Regions from separate parts of the Homo sapiens genome. Here regions 2 and 3 are each linked to region 1. Evidence: promoter capture Hi-C in human tissues and cell types (Jung and others, 2019). All regions are on one chromosome and are shown on one strand. The core of a region is centred on a gene start or on the middle of the fragment in contact, and the rest is flanking DNA. Distances in the headings are between cores, read along the strand shown. Region 1 holds the start of IFNL3 (interferon lambda 3). Region 2 holds the start of NCCRP1 (NCCRP1, F-box associated domain containing). Region 3 has its middle 6.9 kb from the start of IFNL1.

What was found. The method cuts DNA at HindIII sites, captures the fragments that hold promoters and counts their contacts. A contact is called where the count stands out against the background at its distance.
Region 2: a contact is called between the fragment with the promoter of NCCRP1 here and the fragment with the promoter of IFNL3 in region 1, in 2 of the 25 tissues and cell types used here (lymphoblastoid cells and spleen).
Region 3: a contact is called between a fragment that was not itself captured here and the fragment with the promoter of IFNL3 in region 1, in 7 of the 25 tissues and cell types used here (IMR-90 fibroblasts, dorsolateral prefrontal cortex, lymphoblastoid cells and 4 more).

What each region holds. Positions count from the first base shown.
Region 1 is chr19:39,243,480-39,246,651 of GRCh38, reverse strand. IFNL3 (interferon lambda 3) reads left to right here and starts at 1,646. Exons shown (of 5, transcript NM_172139.4): 1 at 1,646-1,864; 2 at 2,158-2,235; 3 at 2,495-2,644; 4 at 2,745-2,828; 5 at 2,922-3,099. The coding sequence starts at 1,685. The coding sequence ends at 3,020. It also overlaps the pseudogene IFNL4. The HindIII fragment of the contact is 34,684 bases long and covers 1-3,172 here.
Region 2 is chr19:39,195,461-39,198,320 of GRCh38, reverse strand. NCCRP1 (NCCRP1, F-box associated domain containing) reads right to left here and starts at 1,357. Exons shown (of 6, transcript NM_001001414.2): 1 at 1,002-1,357; 2 at 206-268; 3 at 68-119. The coding sequence starts at 1,338. The HindIII fragment of the contact is 43,248 bases long and covers 1-2,860 here.
Region 3 is chr19:39,288,118-39,290,869 of GRCh38, reverse strand. No RefSeq gene overlaps it. Among named protein-coding and RNA genes, the nearest start is that of IFNL1, 6.9 kb to the left of the region's middle. The HindIII fragment of the contact is 5,296 bases long and covers 1-2,752 here.

The DNA.
Region 1 (3,172 bases), core at 397-2,896:
TTAACCGACTGTGGTTCTTTGGATTCCCTTACGTGTGTTTGTATTTGTGAAGTTCCTGTGCATTTGCTATTCTGTCTCCCGGTTTAAATTTATTGCCAGTTATCAAAGAGTGTTTTGATCGCATTGGTTGTTTTCCGTATGATGATTGTGAGGTGCACCTTACAGCAAAAAAAGAGGCCGAGCCAGGGACTCAGGTGGCCTGAGTTTCAGTTCTGACCCTGCCAGTTAATTACAGTGGAATTCAGGGCAAATTACTTTTCTGAGCCTCTGTTTCCTCACCTATAGGATGGGTTAGCATACTTGCCTTGTGGAGGAGTAGTGTCCGTTGAGATCACGTTTTAAACTCTCCAGCTGAGGTCCTAGTATGGTCTTAATGAGTGGATTCTATTAAATAATCACTCACATAAATACACAAACAATTGTGTTATTAATTTTTTCTCCAAATCTGTGCATTAGCAATCTGCGTTGCTGAATGCACCCCTCCTTGCCAAGGTCACACGGCTAGTGAGGGTCAGAACCAGGTTTGAACCCCAGACCCTTCATCTCCAAGACCCATGCTCTTCACCACTGCCTGAACTTCCCTAAGAAAGACGGCACCCACGTGGTGTCCTTCAAGTCCTTCGTCACACCTCAATTCTTGAGCAGAGCCTCATATTCCTGAGTCCTTCCTTGCCTGGGCAATTAAGAAATATTGGCCTCTGGGCATGGTGGCTCACACTGAAATCCCAGCAATTTGGGAGGCCTAGACAGAGAGATGACTTGACATCAGGAATTTGAGACCAGCCTTGCCAACATGGTGAAACGCCATCTCTACTAAAAATATAAAAATTAGCTGGGAATGGTGGCACAAATCTGTAATCTCAGCTACTTGGGAGGCTAAGGCAAGAGAATTGCTTGAACCCAGGAGGCGGAGGTTGCAGTTAGCCAAGATTTTGCACTGCACTCCAGCCTGGGTGACCGAACAAGACCCTGTCTCAAAATATATATATATATATATATATATATATGCCAGGAGTGGTGGCTCAGGCCTGTAATCTCAGCACTTTAATAGGCTGGGTGAGGAGGATGGCTTGAGCCCAGGAGTTTGAGGCTGCAGTGAGCTGTGATCATGCCATTGCACTGCAGTGACAGAGTGAGACCCTGTCTTAAACAACAACAAAACCAGAGCAGGTGGAATCCTCTTGGGAACATACCTTCCTGTAGGTTACCCCTGAGTCTCCATCAGTTTCTCTTTCCCTCCAGCTGCTCATCTGGCTCACTAGCCCTGCCCTGCTCTGGGCTTTCCCAGCCTGGGGCTCCCCTGGTGGCCGGTGTCTTACCTGAGGCTGTGTTTTCACTTTTCCTACATCAGCTGGGACTGCCCTTCTGTCAGGGATAAAAGCTGCCCCATGGAGCTCAGGCAGGAATTACATCCCAGACAGAGCTCAAAACTGACAGAAAGAGTCAAAGCCAGGACACAGTCTGAGATCCAGAAGAGGGGACTGAAAAGAACAGAGACTCCAGACAAGACCCAAACAGACCCTGGGTGACAGCCTCAGAGTGTTTCTTCTGCTGACAAAGACCAGAGATCAGGAATGAAACTAGGTGAGTCCCACATCTCTGTCCGTGCTCAGCTCCTGCAGCCCCTGCCCTCAGTGGGCAGCCTCTGCATTCCCTCAGCTCCCTTTCTCTCTGTGACACAGACATGACCGGGGACTGCATGCCAGTGCTGGTGCTGATGGCCGCAGTGCTGACCGTGACTGGAGCAGTTCCTGTCGCCAGGCTCCGCGGGGCTCTCCCGGATGCAAGGGGCTGCCACATAGCCCAGTTCAAGTCCCTGTCTCCACAGGAGCTGCAGGCCTTTAAGAGGGCCAAAGATGCCTTAGTGAGTCTCCCCCTGCCCTCCTGCCATGGACTAGCCTCCACCCGCACTCCAAGGGTCACCATGCTTTCCCACTCCCAGCTTCCTTCACTGGGCTAGCCTCCACCCTCCCTGCAGTGGGCTATCTCATGCTCCTACTGCAGGGACTGACTCATGTTTTCCTGAAGAAGAGGGTCCTCTACCATCCTCCCAGCAGTTAACCTCCCCTATCCTGTTGTCAGCCATCCTCCAATCCCATCAGAGTGGTCTAACCTCCACCCCTCCTGCTGGGGCTAACCTGTGCCTTTGCTGTCTAGGAAGAGTCGCTTCTGCTGAAGGACTGCAAGTGCCGCTCCCGCCTCTTCCCCAGGACCTGGGACCTGAGGCAGCTGCAGGTGAGAGGGGGAGTCAGGCCCACCCCTGCCCTCCCAGCCCTGCTCACCTGGCTCTGTAGTGGCCCCTTCACCTTCTCCTTCTCCATTGTCCCTCTCTCCTCTCCCCACACCTGCTACCCCTTCCCTCTGCTCCTACCTGACCACACTGGCTGTGCCCTCTCCCCTGTGCCTGTCACCTTCACTTGTTCCTCTCTATCCTCCTCCCCCAACCTGTTCCCCTCACCTCCCCCCTCACCTGCTCTTTCTCACCTCTCCTCAGGTGAGGGAGCGCCCCGTGGCTTTGGAGGCTGAGCTGGCCCTGACGCTGAAGGTTCTGGAGGCCACCGCTGACACTGACCCAGCCCTGGGGGATGTCTTGGACCAGCCCCTTCACACCCTGCACCATATCCTCTCCCAGCTCCGGGCCTGTGTGAGTCGTCAGGGCCCGGGCACCCAGGTCTGTGAGCTCTGAGCAGCGTCCTTCCCCTGGCCAAGGCCCCGGCTCACACACCGCCCTCCTCTGCCCACAGATCCAGCCTCAGCCCACGGCAGGGCCCAGGACCCGGGGCCGCCTCCACCATTGGCTGCACCGGCTCCAGGAGGCCCCAAAAAAGGTGAGTGACCCGGGAAGAGAGGGACTGAGGTCTGGGGAGCCACTGGGAGCCCAGAACCCAGACAGCCCCTGACCCATCCCCTCCTCCCTACAGGAGTCCCCTGGCTGCCTCGAGGCCTCTGTCACCTTCAACCTCTTCCGCCTCCTCACGCGAGACCTGAATTGTGTTGCCAGCGGGGACCTGTGTGTCTGACCCTTCCGCCAGTCATGCAACCTGAGATTTTATTTATAAATTAGCCACTTGGCTTAATTTATTGTCACCCAGTCGCTATTTATGTATTTGTGTATGTAAATCCAACTCACCTCCAGGAAAATGTTTATTTTTCTACTTTTTGAAATCCTTGT
Region 2 (2,860 bases), core at 108-2,607, 48 kb after region 1:
AGGTCTCACAGTGAGGAAGGGTGGAGCAGGGAATGGAGTGTAAGCCACACTGGCCCTGGCGACTCACCTTTGGTTCTGCTGGAGCTTTTCAGTTCTAATGTACCAGCCACGGAAATTGCCTGCAGGTTGGGGAGCAAAGGGTTAGGACACCCCAACGCTGGAGGACCCTCCCCACCCTCAGCAACCTGGCCCTCCAAGCACTTACCCAGAGTTTCCAGGGGTCGCTGGGTGGGACCAGTAGGGGGTGCTGGCTCATAAATGTTGATGCCTGAAATGGACAGGTGAGTGGAGCCTCTGGGCAGCCCCTCCATCTTCCACCGCCTCACCCCTCCCTACCCGCAGGGCTATACACTGGAAGGGCAGGAATCTGTGCCAGGTCAGGGAAGCCCGGCAGGGATGAGTGAGTCAGGGCTCTGGGCTGGGGAGAGGGCAATGCCAGGGGTAAGTGGGGTGTGGTGAGACAGACAGAGACAGAGGGACAGAGAGAAGAACCCAGAGAAAGAGACAGGCCAAGAGTTTGAAACCAGCCCAGCCTGGCCAACATGACGAAACCCTGTGTCTACTAAAAATACAAAAATTAGCCAGGCATGGTGGTGCATGCCTGTAATCCCAGCTACTCGGGAGACTGAGGCAGGAGAATTGCCTGAGCCTGGGAGGCGGAGGTTGCAGTGAGCTGAGATTGCACCACTGCATTCCAGCCTGGGCGACAGCAAGACTCCGTCTCAAGAGACAGAAACATAGGCAGAGGGGGAGAGAGAGAGGAGGAGAGAGAAAGAGAGATGGAGAGGTGTGAGGGAGAGGTGTGAGAGAGGTAGGTAAGAGACATGACAGAGAGACAGGTGGTAAAATGGAGAGGCACAATGACAGAAAAAGAGACAGAGGGATGCAGAGAAATGCATAGACAGAGAGAGACAAAGAGGTAGAGAGATAAGGAAACAGGGAAAGAGGAAGAGACAGACGGTCAGGGTGGTGCCTCCTGGCTGCTCTGGGCCCTTGCGCACCTTCGGGGTTGGGCGAGCGCAGCAGGTTGCGGTAGAGCGGCCGCCGCAACAGGAGCAGCTTCCAGGTGAGGCGCTGGGGCAGCTCCAGGCCCCCGCTCAGCGGCCCCCACTCCTCCAGCAGCAGCTGCCGGGCGTGAGCCTCGGACGGCTGCGCCGGCTCGGGGAGCTCGGGGGCCTCCGGGGCTGCGGGCGATGGCAGCGACGGCGGCGAGGGCAGTGGTGGCGGCGACGGCGGCGGTGAAGGCGACCGTGGCGAGGGAGGCAGCTCCTGGAGGCTCGCGGGCCCATCGGCTTCCATCCCGCCACCGAGCGCGTGTCCCTCACGCACCTCCTCCATCCCTCGAGGCTGCGCGACTGTCCCGGTTTCACAGGGCTGGGGTTAACTGGGAGCGGGAAGGGGCAGGGCACCCTGGCTGACATTTAAGAGAGGGGCGTGTCGGGGGAGGATCTTGTCCCTCGGACCCTCCTCCCTCAGACCCAGGAGTCCAGGCCCCTAGCCCCTCCTCCCTCAGACCCAGGAATTCAAGACCCCAGCCCCTCCTCCCTCAGACCCAGGAGTCCAGGCCCCTAGCCCCTCCTCCCTCAGACCCAGGAATTCAAGACCCCAGCCCCTCCTCCCTCAGACCCAGGAGTCCAGGCACCAGCCCCTCTTCCCGCAGACCCAGGAATCCAGGCCCCCAGTCCGTCCTCCCTCAGATCCAGGAGTCCAGGCACCAGCCCCTCCTTCTTCAGACCCAGAAGTCCAGGCACCAGCCCCCTCCTTAGGTCCCCAGACTTCCTGCCCCAATTTTCCCAGGGCCAGCTGAGGACCCAGCGTGAGCCTGACAGAGCGTGTGACTAATGTGCTAATGCCAGGGCTCCGGGCTGTCTAATGGGACCCGTGCACCTCATTAAGATCCAGCATGGCAGGATTAAGAGGCTAATTAACGAAGACCCCCCTCCTCCCCCTCCCCACTCTGCAGAGGGGGAGTGGATGGATGAGCTGAGGTGCAAAGGGAAGGTCCTGCCTCTGCCACTTCCTTCTCTGTCCTCACCTGGGACACCCCCTTGGGGCCCTGACACATACTGTCCAGAAAACCAAGGTGAGGAGAGCAGAGAGACACCCAAAACCAGAGATGAGGAGCCTCAGAGATGGGGGACCCCAGGGAGGCACAAAGATGGCAGTGAGAGGGAAGCAGTGATCCCAACTGGGTGTTCTGGGGGCCTGCACCCCTGCCTGGGACTGGGGTGGGGGGCTGCAGAAGCCTCCCCCATCAGAGGTCACGAGGAGGTGGGAGCAAGGGACGGGGCACAGGTGGGGACAGGAGGTCAGGTGTGGAGGAAGTGGGGTGGCAGAGGAACCTGTAGCGCCAGATTCCCACAGCCACTTCCTGCCCGTGGCCACATCCCTCTACCTGGCCCAGGTAAGCTCAGCACTGAGCGCTTGCTTCTCTCTCTCTCTCTCTCTCTGATGGAGTCTCACTCTGTCACCCAGGCTGAAGTGCAGAAGCACGATCTCAGCTCACTGCAACCTCCGCCTCCCGGGTTGAAGTGATTCTCCTGCCTCAGCCTCCCGAGTAGCTGGGATTACAGGCATGTGCCACCACACCCAGCTAATTTTGTAGTTTTAGAAGAGACGAGGTTTCACCCTCTTGATCAGACTGGTCTCAAACTCCTGACCTCAAGTGATCCACCTGCCTTGGCCTCCCAAAGTGCTGGGATTACAGGCGTGAGTGCTTTCTACTGAGCGCCTCTAAGTTCATTTCATTCTCCTACAAAGACAAGGTGGGTGCTACTATGACTGGCATTTTATAGGTAAAGGAAAAGTAACAGCAAACATGTGTGTGCAGCTGTGTGCTGGCGGATGCCCTCTGGGACGG
Region 3 (2,752 bases), core at 222-2,721, 44 kb before region 1:
TTAAAAAATTTTTATTTATTTGCTTTTTAAGATATGGGTGAAATCTCACTTTGTTGCTCAGGCTGGCCTCAAACTCCTGGCCTCAAATAATCGTCCCTCTTTGGCTTTCCGAGTAGCTGGGATTACAGGTGTAAGCCACCATGCCTGGCTCTCTGACAATAATTTTAAAGTAATTGTCATAAAAATGCTTCAACAAACAATCATGAATACTTTTGACACAATTTTTTTTTTTTTTTGAGACAGAGTCTTGCTCTGTCGCCCAGGCTGGAGTGCAGTGGCTGCAAGCTCCACCTCCCGTGTTCATGCCATTCTCCTGCCTCAGCCTCCTGAGTAGCTGGGACTACAGGCACCTGCCACCACGCCTGGCTAATTTTTTGTATTTTTAGTAGTAGAGACGGGGTTTCACCGTGTTAGCCAAGATGGTCTCGATCTCCTGACCTCGTGATCCACTCACTTCAGCCTCCCAAAGTGCTGGGATTACAGGAGTGAGCCTCTGCACCTGGCTGACACAAAAATTTTTAATAGAAAGTTTCATCAAAGAAATAGAAGGTATAAAGAATTGAGTGGAAATTTTAGAACAGAGAAATATAAGAACTGAAAAATACAAGAACTGAAGTAAAACTCACTGAAAGGGCCAAATAGCAGAATGGAGATGGCAGAAGAAAGAATCAGAAAACTTGAAGATAGGTCAATAGAAATTACTCATTCTGAACAACAGAGAGTAAGTAGCAAATAGATTGAAGTATGAACAAAGGATAGAAAGTAGATTTTTAAAAATGAAAAGAACTCCAGGGAGGTGGAGGTTAAAGCAAGCCAATATCGCACCACTGCACTCCAGCCTGGGGGACAATGTGAGACCCTGTCTCTAAAAAAAGAGAAAAGAAAAGAGCTCCAGGGACCTTTAGTACATTAAGTTTTAACACTCACATCACTGATGTTCTGGATGAACAGAAAGAAAGTGGGGACGGGCATGGTGGCTCATGCCTATGATTTCAGCACTTGGGGGAGCCAAGGTGGGTGTATTGTTTAAGCTCAGGAATTTGAGACCAGCCTAGGCAACATGGCGAAACCCTATCTCTACCAAAAATACAAAAATTAGCCAGGCGTGGTGGCAGGTGCTTGTGGTCCCATGGTCCCAGCTGCTTGGGAGGCTGAGGTGGGAGGACCACCTGAGACAGGGAGATGAGGCTGCGGTGAGCTGTGACTGCACTCCAAATGGGGTGATGGAGCGAGACTTTGTTCCCCCACCACAAAATAAAGATACCTATATATTTATAAATCAGGGAGGATAAAGGGACCTAAATTGTGATGTTTCCTACATTCCATTTGAAGAGATAAAATATTAATACTATTGCATTGTGATGTTATATATATACTGTAATTCCAGAGCAACCACTAAAAAACTATATAAAGAGATATACTAAAAAAAAAAAAACTATAGATAAAGCTAAATGAAACACTAAAAAAAAGCTTAGTAATCCACAGGAGGGCAATGAAAAGGAAACAAGAATAAAAAACAGAAGGAACAGAAGAAAAATAAGATGGGAGACTTAAGTTCTAATATATCTGTAATTACATTAAATGCAAATGGTTTATATACAGAGATTGGCAGAATATATTTTAAAAAACTGTATGCTGTCTACAGGAAACTCATTTCAAATATAATGACATAGGTAGGTTAAAAGTAAATGGATGGAGGCCAGGCGTGATGGCTCACACTTTAATCTCAGCATTTGGGAGGCTGAGGTGGGTGGCTCACTTGAGGTCAGGAGTTTGAGACCAGCCTGGCTAACATGGTGAAACCTCACCTCTATCAAAAATACAAAAGTTAGGCTGGGCAGGGTGGCTCATGCCTGTAATCGCAGCACTTTGGGAGACTGAGGAGGGCTGATCACCTGAGGTCAGGGGTTCCAGACCACCCTGGCCAACATGGCGAAACCCTGTCTCTACTAAAAGTACAAAAAATTAGCCAGGTGTGGTGGCAGGAATCTGTAATCCCAGCTACTTGGGAGCCAGAGGCAGGGAGAATTGCTCGAACCTGGGAAGTGAAGGTTGCAGTGAGTCAAGATTGTGCCACTGCACTCCAGCCTGGGCGATAGAGTGAGACTTCATCTCAAAAAAAAAAAAAAAAAAAATAGCCAAAATGAATGAGGACAAAAATACAACATATAAAAACTCGTGGTTGGACATAGTGGCTCATGCCTGTAATCTCAACAATTTGGGAGGCTGAAGTAGGAGGATCATTTGAGCCCAGGAGTTCAAGACCAGCCTGGGCAACATAGGGAGACACGGTCCTACAAAAAATTTAAAAATTAGCTGGGTGTGGTGGTGTGCACCTGTAGTTCCAGCTACTTGGGAGGCTGAGGAGGGAGGATCACTTGAGCCCAGGAGGTTGAGGCTGCAGTGAGCAGTGATAGCACCACTGCACTCCAGCCTGGGTGACACAATGAGACCCTGTCTCAAAAAAAAAAAACAGGAAGAAACCTCCCCCAAAACTTGTGGGATACAACTAAAGCAGTCTTAGAGAGAAGTTTATAGCACTTAATGCTTATATTAAAAATGAAGAAATGGCCAGATGTGGTGGCTCAAGCCTGTAATCCCAGCACTTTGGGAGGCTGAGGTGGGTGAATCATTTGATGGAAGTTCAAGACCAGCCTGGCCAACATGGTGAAACCTTGTCTCTACTAAAAATACAAAAATTAGCCAGGTGTGGTGGTGCACACTTGTAACCCCAGCTACTTGGGAGGCTGAG